4 separate regions of the Homo sapiens genome follow, and regions 1, 2 and 4 are each linked to region 3. Evidence: promoter capture Hi-C in 16 types of primary human blood cells and fetal thymus (Javierre and others, 2016). All regions are on one chromosome and are shown on one strand. The core of a region is centred on a gene start or on the middle of the fragment in contact, and the rest is flanking DNA. Distances in the headings are between cores, read along the strand shown.

Region 1 (2,700 bases), core at 170-2,669, 340 kb before region 3:
TTTGCTTGCAACTCAGAGTAGCACACAAAATGTCCTTGGTCCAGGAAGGGTTTTCTGCCAGAGGAAACACACAGAGAAATAATTAATAGACAGTCCTCTCCTGAACTAGCCACTCTCACAAAATCACTTTTTAAAGATTCAAAGTGATACAAATTCCTAAACATTTCTTAAATCATCAAGATGAACATTCAGATGATGAGGGTAAAGCTGTGCCTTTTGAGTTCCAAATGTAATAAAATAAAGATTTTGCTTTTCTGGGCCTAATTGATTTTGTAAATATTAATTATCTCTACCTCCTCAAACTGGCTCCTTTCCCTGTATCCCCTACAAGTGGGGTACCCATTCACCCCAGTTTGCCCAGGACAGACTTGCTTTTCACCTATTCTTGCATGGTTATGAACAGTGCCCTCTGTCATTCTCAAAAGTGCCCCAGTTTGAAGGATGAATTACACACTGTCTATGTGTGGTCTTCTCCATGCCCCATGCCTCACAAGTCACTTCCTGGAAGCCAGTCATGACTCTCCTCCCCCTGGTCCTCACAGCCAACCAACCTCCCCATCTGCTCAGCATGACCTCCCAATGTCTCTCCATCTGTGCGTCTGTCCAGCACCCATAGATCACGCCCAGGAAACTGCTGTGCTCTTAACAGTCCCACTCCCACCTCACCCTTCCAATCTGCCTTACGCTCTGATCCACAAGGCTCTTCCCCAAAGGAGATCCCCCATTACAGGAATCTGTGCAAAGGCTCCATGTTGCATCCAATGTCTTTCCGCAGCCTCAGGTGCCTCCACCTCTCTGCAGTCATGCCCTATGTCCCTCCTGTCTCCTCAAGGCCATCAGATACAAGGCATCACTCTCCCTTCCTGAACCTACGTATCTTTTAGAGTTCTGCCTCCAGACACCCACCTTTCCCAGGCTGAGCAAAGCCCCTCCCCTCCCTGCTGCGCAGATGCCTGTGTGCTCACCTCCCACCGCACGATAAATCCATCTGCACAAGACCTGCCACGGGCAAATTTTCTTATCACTGCCTTCCTGTCATTGTGGCACCTAGCACAGGGCTTTGTACCTCCTAGATGCTTGGTCATGACAGAAAATAAAATACATTTTTATAAGAAATAAAATCTTTTTTTAATTAGAAAAAAAAATGTTATCCTGACTCTTAAATTATGAATAATAAATTGTTTCTCAAAAGTCCTTTATAAAAAGTTCTGAGCCAGGCACGGTGGCTCACGCCTGTAATCCCAGCACTTTGGGAGGCCGTGTTGGGCAGATCACGAGGTCAGGAGATCGAGACCATCCTGGCCAATGTGGTAAAACCCCGTCTCTACTAAAAATACAAAAATTAACCGGGCATGGTGGCGGGCACCTGTAATCCCAGCTACTCAGGAGGCTGAGGCATGAGAATTGCTTGAACCCAGGAGGTAGAGGTTGCAATGAGCTGAGGTCGCACCACTGCACTCCAGCCTGGGCGACAGAGCGAGACTCTGTCTGAAAAAAGGAAGGAAGGAAGGAAGGAAGGAAGGAAGGGAAAAAACAGTTCCAGCATATTACTAAGTGAAAGAAGCCCATCTGAAAAGGCTACATATTGTATGATTTCAACTCAATGACGTGCTGGAAAAGACAAAAACTATGGAGACAGTAAAAAGATCCGTGGTTGCTAGGGGCTAGAGGGGTGGGAGAGATGAATGGGCAGAGCACAGAGGATTTTTCAGGCAGTAAAACCCTGTGTGTGATACTGTAACACTGGATGTATGTCATTATATGCTTGTCCTAACCCATAGAATGACAACACCAAGAGTGAAGCCCAATGTGAACTGTGGACTCGGAATGATGCTGTGTCAGTGTGGGTTCATCAATTGTAACAAATGTGCCACTCTGATAATGAGGGAGGCTATGGTGGGGAAGGGAGTATATGGGAAATCCCTGCACCTTCCATTCAAGGTTGCTGCGAATCTAAAACTACTCTAAAATATAAAATTTATTAATTACTAAAACAGTTTTCAACCACATAAAATGCAGAGTAGACACAATATATCCAAAGTCATGCTTTCCAGAAGCAACCCACCTTGATGCCTTATTTGTTTTTCTTTTCTCATTAATCTTATTTTACTAATTTCAAAGACAGGTATCTTTATTGTAGGAAATATAAAATGTGTCACTTAAGTAATCTCTTATTAAAATTTGAAATGAAGGTAATAATGTGCTGTTATATATCACAGCACTTATCTTTAAGCATAAACATATCCTCTGGTCTCGGGAAGACACAATAATGTGTTTATAAGTTATGTTGTTCAAACCTAAAAGAGCAGAGAATGCACCCTGAAAAAGCTGATGTAATGTATGGCATCAGGCAAGCTGTGGGCTGTGTCAGCCCCTTGCTTCCTCAATGTAAAATGACAACGTGGAGTCGACAGTGACCAAGCCCAGCATTCCTGCAAGGTTAGGTCAGGGATGATATGATCATGGGATGCAGTGCTGGGCTGTCAGGCCATCTGGCCTCCATGTGCCTCACATCTAACACGTCTTGAAGCCTGCCCTCAAAGGCACCACCCTCAAGGACACTTGACAACTGTCTCGACACTAACAAGAGCTGGTTTTGAGCCTTGACTCCTCCAACTTTCCCGGGTACCCTCTTTCTCCACCTCTCATTGCCTCTCCCAATCCCTGGCTCCAGCCCTTCCTACTTGCTGTGGCCCCTCT
Region 2 (2,700 bases), core at 50-2,549, 490 kb after region 3:
TGAGAAACTCACATTCTCTGATGCCTTTCTTCTTTCCATCCCGGGCAGATGACTATTGGCTTCTGTCGTACGTGCTCCAGAAAATATTCTGATGCCAGAGTCCTCAGTGTGTTTGCCTAGAAAATGCTGTAAGCTTCTCAAGGCAAGGCATTGCCAAATCAATAGAGGTCCTCAGGTAGGGAACATAAATCTGGAAAAGAAGTGCACGTCTTTAGAAGAAGGCATCTGCAGCCTGAACTTGCCACCCTGGAGCTTCCTTGTCAGGAGGAAGGATTCCTCTAAGGCTTTGCTTTCTGTAGCAGCATGAGGCATCCTAGGGATGAAGAAGTAGAGTCAGGTAGATAAAAATTACGGGTGGACTAGGCTGTGATTACGGCCCTTTTAATAATGTTAGAGTAACAGGTGTATTAAGTGGGGGCATTAGAATTAGAAACTGGCAAGTTTCTAGCAATTTTAAATCTACAAATTTGAAGATTAAATTATAGTTGATTTTCATTACTTGTGGATTCCATATTTGCAAATTAGCCTCCTGGATACAATTTATTTGTAACACCAAAATCAATACCAAGGACAATTTTGTGGTCATTTGAAGACATGAACAAAAAGACTCAAAATTCGGGTTGCCCACCTGCATGTTCCCGTCTGACACTGAACAAAGCAAAGCTCTTCCTTGTTTCAACTCATACTGCAGACAGGCATCCTTTCCACAGTCTATTTAGTGCCACATTTCCCCCATTTTTGTGCTTCTGTTGTTGATTATGCTGTTTAAAATGCAAGTGTAGTGCTGATGTGATGTCCAGTGTCCCTAAGCACAAGATGACTGTCCTGTGCCTGGTGGAGAAAGCGCATGTGTTAGACAGTCCTTCCTTCAGGTGTGAGTTACAGCACCAATGGCTGAGAGTTTCATGTTAATGAATCCACAGTATTTATTAAATTAGGGTCTCTCTTTGTCACCCAGGCCGGAGTGCTGTGGCATGATCTCGGTTCACTGCAACCTCTGCCTCCTGGGTTCAAGTGATTCTCATGCCCCAGCCTCCTGAGTAACTGGGATTACAGGCATGCACAACCACTCCCGACAATTTGTACATTTTTAGTAGAGATGGGGTTTCACCACATTGGCCAGGCTGGTCTCGAACTCCTGACCTCAGGTGATCCACCTGCCTAGGCCTCTCAAAGTGCTGAGATTACAGGTGTGAGCCACTGCACCCGGCCAAGGTTATGCCTTGAAGCGGTTGGTGAAAATGCTGTGACTAGAGCTCGCAGGACCCTAACCCTGTATTTCTCCTAGAGACGGAAGCTCAGTGTTGGTCAAATCAGTGTTTGCAGCAACTTTATAGAACACAACTACTGCCAATAACGAAAATCAACTGTAATTGATTAGGCATTGATTAGGGTCCATTGTAGGACAGCCTCATTGTCAGGTTTTCACTTAATGATTCTTTCCCTGAGCTTTACTATCTGAGAGAACAGATCCCAGCCCACTTTCTGGCTGCCTTCTGTGAACCTATGATAGGCAATTTGCTTACAAACCGGAGAGGCAGGGAGAAGAGAGGCACAGCGGGGAGGAATCAGGGCAGAGGGCTAACTAGTCTTGGCTGTGGAGTTCTAGGGAGGTAGAAAAGTCGATGGTCCCTCGTGGTGGAGTGAAAGCTAAGACAGACCTGGCCTGTGTCCTAGCACTCCCCTTGCTGCAAATGGCCTCAGGTGGGCAAGCCTGGTCCTGGGTTTGAACTAGATGAAGTGACAGCCTGACAATGGGGCTGTCTTACTATGGAACCCTAGTCAATACCTAATCAATTACAGTAGATTCTCATTATTGGTGGTAGTCATGTTCGATAAAGTTGCTGCAAACACTGATTTAGCCAACACTGAGCTTCTGTCTCTAGGAGAAATAAAGGGTTAGGGTCCTGCGAGCTCTAGTCACAGTGTTTTCACGAACTGATCAACACATAACCTCGGCCAGGCGCAGTGGCTTATGCCTGTTTGAAAGTGGGGATGATAAGGGTTCCTTGCTCAGCAGGCTGCTACAAGGATGGAGAGAGAATACAAGCAAATCATGTTGCATTATGTCAGGAATAGAGTGGATGTGGAATAACTTGCTGTGACAATGATCGTTACTGGTATTAATACAGGGGCAACGAGGAGGGTCATTGCTGCTTGCATGTCACTTACTATGCATTTGGCTTCACATCCAGGCAGAATCTGTCATTTAAAGGGATCAGAATTTATAAGTGATTATTGAACTGAAGTATCAGTTAACTTGCGGAATCCTGAACCTTTCATTTAGGATTCCATTGTGTCTGAAAACCGGTAAAAGTAGCCACCTGTCTTTGACGTACCATCCCACCCTGTCTTTGAGTTCTCTCCAGGGTCTGGGGTTCCCTGTCCTGTTTTTACATAGTGTACATCTACAATGAGTCATTGAAATTTCCCATTTGGGGTTCCTCAGAGTGTAAGAAAGCTTAAAGATACTTAGGAATAATTGGAGCATAGAAATCCTCTGGACTCTGCCCCAGCTGCCCTACAGAAATTTGATGAGTTTTACTGACTGCCTCACGCAAGGCTCTCAAAAACTTCAGTGTTTGCAGCAGTAACAAATCCTTTTTTGCTCACATTTCATTGATTTCTGCAGTATTTTATTAAGCTCTGCAATTACAATAACTGGTACAACTGGCATTTGCAGGGTTGGGAGCAGACGCA
Region 3 (2,739 bases), core at 51-2,550:
AGCTTGTGCCTGAAAACGTTCCCACTCTTCTTGGTATCACTCTCTTCAGAGTGGAGAGAAAAAATATCTAGTGTTCTGAGTAAAACATTAAGTTTTCTAAAATCTCTGAAGGTTTAAATGTTGGTATAAAGAACTAAGACAACTAACAAGTGCTTTAAAAATATAAGAGAAAATGTTTCGTAATGGAGAGAACTCAGTCTGACCCGCCAGTTGCAAACAAGGAGAGGTGCAGGAGGTTCGGAACCAGATCATTCCTAGGTTCTGCCGTAAGACAGAGTGCGCCTAGTGTGTGCCTTGCCAGCCTTCCTTAGGAATGCTCTTCTGCTCTTGTGGAAGGTATCCTGTTCCCCAGTGCAGTTGTGGACAGTTACAGCTTTTTTTTTTTTTTTTTTTTTTTGAGACAGAGCCTCGCTCTGTTGCCCAGGCTGGAGTGTGGTGGCACGATCTCGGCTCACTGCAACCTCCGCCTCTCGGTTTCGAGCAATTCTCCTGCCTCAGCCTCCCGAGTAGCTGGGACTACAGGTGCGTGCCACCATGCCTGGCTAATTTTTGTATTTTTAGTAGAGACGGGGTTTCACTATGCTGGCCAGGCTGGTCTCGAGCTCCTGACCTCGTGATCCGCCCACCTCGACCTCCCAAAGTGTTGGGATTATAGGCGTGAGCCACCGCGCCCAGCCAACAGTTACAGCTTTTTATTCTCAGACTTCTCTCAGCTTCCATGTACAGTCTCTCCCTTGAGTAGTGATCTGTTTCAGGCAGCCACAAAGATCCCTACCTAAAACACACTTTTGTTTTGTTTTGTTTTGTTTCATTTTGTTTTTGAGGCAGAGTCTCACTCTATTGCACAGTGGTGCAATCTCGTCTCACTGCAACCTCCACCTCCTAGGTTCAAGCAATTCTCTCGCCTGAGCCTCCTGGGTAACTGGGATTACAGATGTGTGCCACCACACTTGGCTATTTTTGTATTTTTAGTAGAGACGGGGTTTCACCATATTGGCCAGGCTGGTCTCAAACTTCTGGCCTCAAGTGATCCACCCACCTTGGCCTCCCAAATTGCTGGGATTACAGACATGAGCCACCACGTCTGTCAAAAGCACACTTCTTAGGAAGGAATTTGTCTGACAGTGTTAGGAAAACAAAAGCTGTTTCTGCTTGGGAAAATGTTACTGGAGTTTGGATTTTTCCCTCTGTGTTTGATGTGTGTCCTGATAAGAGGTCACAAGTACAGAAGCTGGAAGCATTAAGCTCTATTTCTTTGTCTTCCAGAGGATGTAGGAAGAAGCTGGTCTGCTGACTGTCATACTTGTGACCAGCTTGCACAGGACATGGCCGAGGAGGCAGCCCAGAACATTTCTGATGACCAGGAAAGGTGAGTTATCACTGTTCTCAGAGGGTTTGGTAAGCTTGATTTTAAAGTATGCATTCAGAAATTTTCTTTCAAAAGTCATCACCTCTAGGATGTGGGCTCACTCTGGCACGAGTGGAGGCCCTGTACCAGGAGGGTGCATTTGGCCGGCGGGGTCAGTTCAGAGGTTGGAGTTGGTGTTGAGAATGGAGTTTTTTCCTGAAGGCTTTTGAGAAGACTCCTCCAAGCGGATGCCTTCAGCCATGAGAAGTGCTGATTGCTCTTCCTGCAAATGCAGGATACCTTCCAAGTTCGAGGACTTTCTGCTGCCTGGTAGTAGACAAAGTTAAGCTATCTGCTTGTCTGCTAGGTCCCTTGCATGGAGACCAGGAGAAACCTGGCACAGGAAGAGATCATGGGGTCTTGGCCCAGGGGTCTTATTTCTTTTTTTTTGAGACGGAGTCTCTCTCTGTTGCCCAGGCTCGAGTGCAGAGGTGCGATCTTGGCTCACTGCAAGCTCTGCCTCCTGGGTTCATGCCATTTATCCTGCCTCAGCCTCCCAAGTAGCTGGGACCACAGGCGCCCACCACCACGCCCGACTAATTTTTTGTATTTTTAGTAGAGACGGGGTTTCACTGTGTTAGCCAGGATGGTCTCGATCTCCTGACCTTGTGATCTGCCCGCCTTGGCCTCCCAAAGTACTGGGATTACAGGCATAAGCCACCGCACCCAGCCTCCATGGGTCTTATTTCTAAACCCTCTTCCCCATGCTCTGTGCGCGCCAGCACCCATGTGTTGTTGAGGCTGGGCAGCCTGTGTGCTCTGCTGTTGACTGTCTCATGGCAGTGTGACATGGTGCAAACCTCCATGCCCCCTTTCCTGGGCGTGAGGCCAGCAAGGTGACCTGCCTGTGGGATGTGGTAAGGACCCAGGTGGGTCACCGCTGTCCCCTGGCCTGGCATGATGGGAGCCTGTGCCTGCAGATCTTGCCCAGTGGGGTACCCCGCCACTGCAGGTCACTTTACCTCCTCACCCCCAGATTTCTCATCCTGAAAATCTGAGTACCCCTGTTGTCACATCTGTAAACTCCAGAGGGTCGTTATAAAAATCAGTATCCTTGATGAATGCTTGCTGTCAGCATTTCTGCCTTTGTTAGCTTACTGTCTTTGTGCCATCACCATCATTTTATCAAAGAAACCCAAAGCAAACCAGGATGAGAAAATGAGGCTGCACGTGTTGACGGGGTTGGTCACATTCATGCTTGGAAATTTCTTTGCCTTATGTCACTCACTGCTGCCAAGCATTGTCTGATTTTGGCTACAATTTTTTCCCTTATTTTTTCTGGTTACCTCATGTTTCTTTTATTCCAAATGCCCATGCTCCTGCAGACTCCC
Region 4 (2,700 bases), core at 68-2,567, 290 kb before region 3:
ATTTTGAAATCCTAGCCCCCAAGGTGATGGTATAAGGAGATGGGGCCCTGGGGAGCTGGTCAGATCATGAGGGTGAACACTTGTGAATGGGATTAGCACCCTGATAAAAGAGACCCAGGGAGTTCCCTTACCCCTTCTACCACGTGAGGACACACCAAGATAAATTTCTGTTGTTTACAAGTCTGTGGTCTTTTGTTATAACAGCCTGAATTGACTAAACAATGACAATAGTCAGAAAGCTTAATTTTAGTCCCATGTGTTCACTTTTAGGTTCCTTTTGGATCAGGATTTAAAATATTAACCTGTGACTGTCAAAGCACAGGGTCCCTGATGTTTTGTTCTATTTTTTTCCCTTAATTAAAAATAATCAACAATACCATGTATCATGTTAGATAGATAAGGCCAAGTCCCCACTCAGATGCTCACAGCCTATGAGAGGCAGATATGCAGCCATCAGGCTCCCTGGGACATGCCCTATTATAGAAGGTTGAAGAAGTAGAGGCAGAGGCTGAAGTGAGGTCACAGGAGATCCACAGAGGATGTGAGGTTAGATAAATCATTTTCCAATTCAGGAGGCAGAGGCAGGGAAAGAGGAGGACTATTCTCTTGCAGGGGCAGCATGTGCTGAGGCCCCCAGCAGGCCCAGAGAGTGACAGGGTCAGGAGTCAGACAGACCCCAGGGAGGGCCTAGGCTCACAGGCTGATGCAGATGGAAAGGGCCCTGTGAAACCACCTTTGCAGATTATGAGAGTGAGAGAAGTCTAGCATGGCTGACTCCACCTTGCTTCTAGCCTCAGAGGCTGGCTGTCCTTGCTCACTCCTGGGCATATACCAAGCTAACCATGGGAGGAATTTAGTTTGTAGTTTAACTTTTTAGCAAGGTTGATAGTAGTCCCTCCCTAAGATGAATCCCCTCATTTCTCAGGTACAGAACCTGCCCTTGTAAGACTAATAAAAGGCCACAAGATTAAGATTATGAGAGTGGCTTGAATGCTGCTAAAATGTAGGTGTAGCTAAATGATAATCAGCCACTGGTCCCTAGCTTGCCTTCTATAATCCCTTGCTGCTCAGGAGTCATGGGGCCAAAGATCACAAGATATGTGACTTCCTCAATTGCTCCTATAGATAACATCACTATTGTCAAACCCAAGATTGGTCTCTTGAGACGTTTTTCAGACTTTTGCATTTTTCCACATCCTTGTGATTTCATCCCCAACCAATCGGCGAAACTCATTTCCTAGTCCCCTGCCCACCAAATTATCCAAAAAAAAAAAAAAAAAAAAAACCCTACCCTCTGAGTTCTCAAGGAGGCTGATTTGAGTAATAACTCCAGTTTTTTCCCTTGGCTAGCTCTGCATTAATTAAACCCTTTCTCTACTGCAATACTGCAGTCTCAATGAATTGGTTTTGTCTGTGCAGTGGGCAGGAAGAGCTCACCAGGCAATTACACTTACGAAGGGTGGGAAGCAGGCAATGTTCCCCCAAGATGTCCATGTCCCAATCCCAAGAGCCCATGAATATGTTATGTTGTATGGCAAGTGAGATTTAAGGCTGCAGATGAAATTAAGGCTACTTATCACCTGGCTTTGAGATGGGCGATTATCCTGGGTAACCTGGTGAGCCCAGTGTAACCACAAGGGTTTTTATTGGAGAAAGGAGGCAAAAATGTCAGTGCCCAAGTGATGGGATATGAGAAGAACTAGACCTGCCATTGCTGGCTTTGATGATTGAGAAAGAGGCTCAGACCCAAGGAATGTGGATGGCCACTGGAAGCTGGAAAAAGCAAGAAAACAGAATACGCCACCCCAAAGTATGTTTCTTTGGCATATGGATTATTTTGAGCTAAAGACAAACTGAAAACCAGCAGAGGCAGGAAAAACTTCTTACCGTTCCCTAACTGTTTAAAAATAGAGTATAAATTTCCTTTTGGTAAAGGAAATTTAGATTTATAAAGAAAATTTACATTATTAAGATAATTTTCATCTGTAAAGATGTCTCCTACCAAAAAGAGAGCTGCTTCTCCAAATAACTCTGATCACCTGGGAGATTTCTCTGCAAAACAGGATAACTCATTCACCATATATTTCCTCCCCTCACCTTCCCATAACTTGCCTTGCTACTCAGAAACCCCAAGCCCCCTTTCCTTTGTATAGATAGCCTTGGATGGCATATAAGCCTTAATAATCTGGCTGCTTCCTTAAAATACAGGTGATCCTTGATCTACAATGAGGTTACATCCTCATCAACCCATCATGACTTGAAAATATCATAAGCCAAGAATACATTTAGTACACCCAACCTCAAAACATAACCAAACTTAACCTAGCCTACCTGAACTGTGCTCAGAACACATACATTAGCCTACAATTGGAAAAATAATCTAACACAAAGCTTATTTTATAATAAAGTATTTATTATCTCATGTAATTTATTGAATACTATACTGAAAGTGAAAAACAGAATGGTCATCAGGGAAGATCTACACATTTCTCTTTGTGAACTCCCATACATACCTACACAATAACTGGTTTTCCTCTTCTTTATCTGTCTTTTATCAGGTTAATTCATGAGCCCCAGCCATTGAAGATGGAATAATAGAGAAAAAAAGAATTTTTCCTCCCCCACAACAGTATGTCCCCTTGACCTCAAGAAGGATTGCAGCCCTGCAGACACCTTGATTCTAGCCCAGTGAGACCATTT

What was found. The method cuts DNA at HindIII sites, captures the fragments that hold promoters and counts their contacts. A CHiCAGO score of 5 or more calls a contact.
Region 1: a contact is called between a fragment that was not itself captured here and the fragment with the promoter of PKD1L1 in region 3, in 1 of 17 cell types (neutrophils). The highest score is 5.0, in neutrophils.
Region 2: a fragment that was not itself captured here is called in contact with the fragment with the promoter of PKD1L1 in region 3 in 1 of 17 cell types (total B cells); the score reaches 8.0 in total B cells.
Region 4: a contact is called between a fragment that was not itself captured here and the fragment with the promoter of PKD1L1 in region 3, in 1 of 17 cell types (activated CD4 T cells). The highest score is 6.9, in activated CD4 T cells.

Annotation. Positions count from the first base shown.
Region 1 is chr7:48,285,314-48,288,013 of GRCh38, reverse strand. ABCA13 (ATP binding cassette subfamily A member 13) reads right to left here. Exons shown (of 62, transcript NM_152701.5): 20 at 1-54. Among named protein-coding and RNA genes, the nearest start is that of ABCA13, 120 kb to the right of the region's middle. The HindIII fragment of the contact is 4,638 bases long and covers 1-2,700 here.
Region 2 is chr7:47,461,675-47,464,374 of GRCh38, reverse strand. The region is part of intron 4 of TNS3 (tensin 3); the gene reads left to right. Among named protein-coding and RNA genes, the nearest start is that of SNORD151, 1.8 kb to the left of the region's middle. The HindIII fragment of the contact is 2,328 bases long and covers 136-2,463 here.
Region 3 is chr7:47,947,027-47,949,765 of GRCh38, reverse strand. It overlaps PKD1L1 (polycystin 1 like 1, transient receptor potential channel interacting), which reads left to right and starts at 1,300. Exons shown (of 57, transcript NM_138295.5): 1 at 1,300-1,369. The coding sequence starts at 1,326. The HindIII fragment of the contact is 5,981 bases long and covers 1-1,405 here.
Region 4 is chr7:48,235,598-48,238,297 of GRCh38, reverse strand. All of the region lies in intron 8 of ABCA13 (ATP binding cassette subfamily A member 13), which reads right to left. Among named protein-coding and RNA genes, the nearest start is that of ABCA13, 65 kb to the right of the region's middle. The HindIII fragment of the contact is 2,152 bases long and covers 242-2,393 here.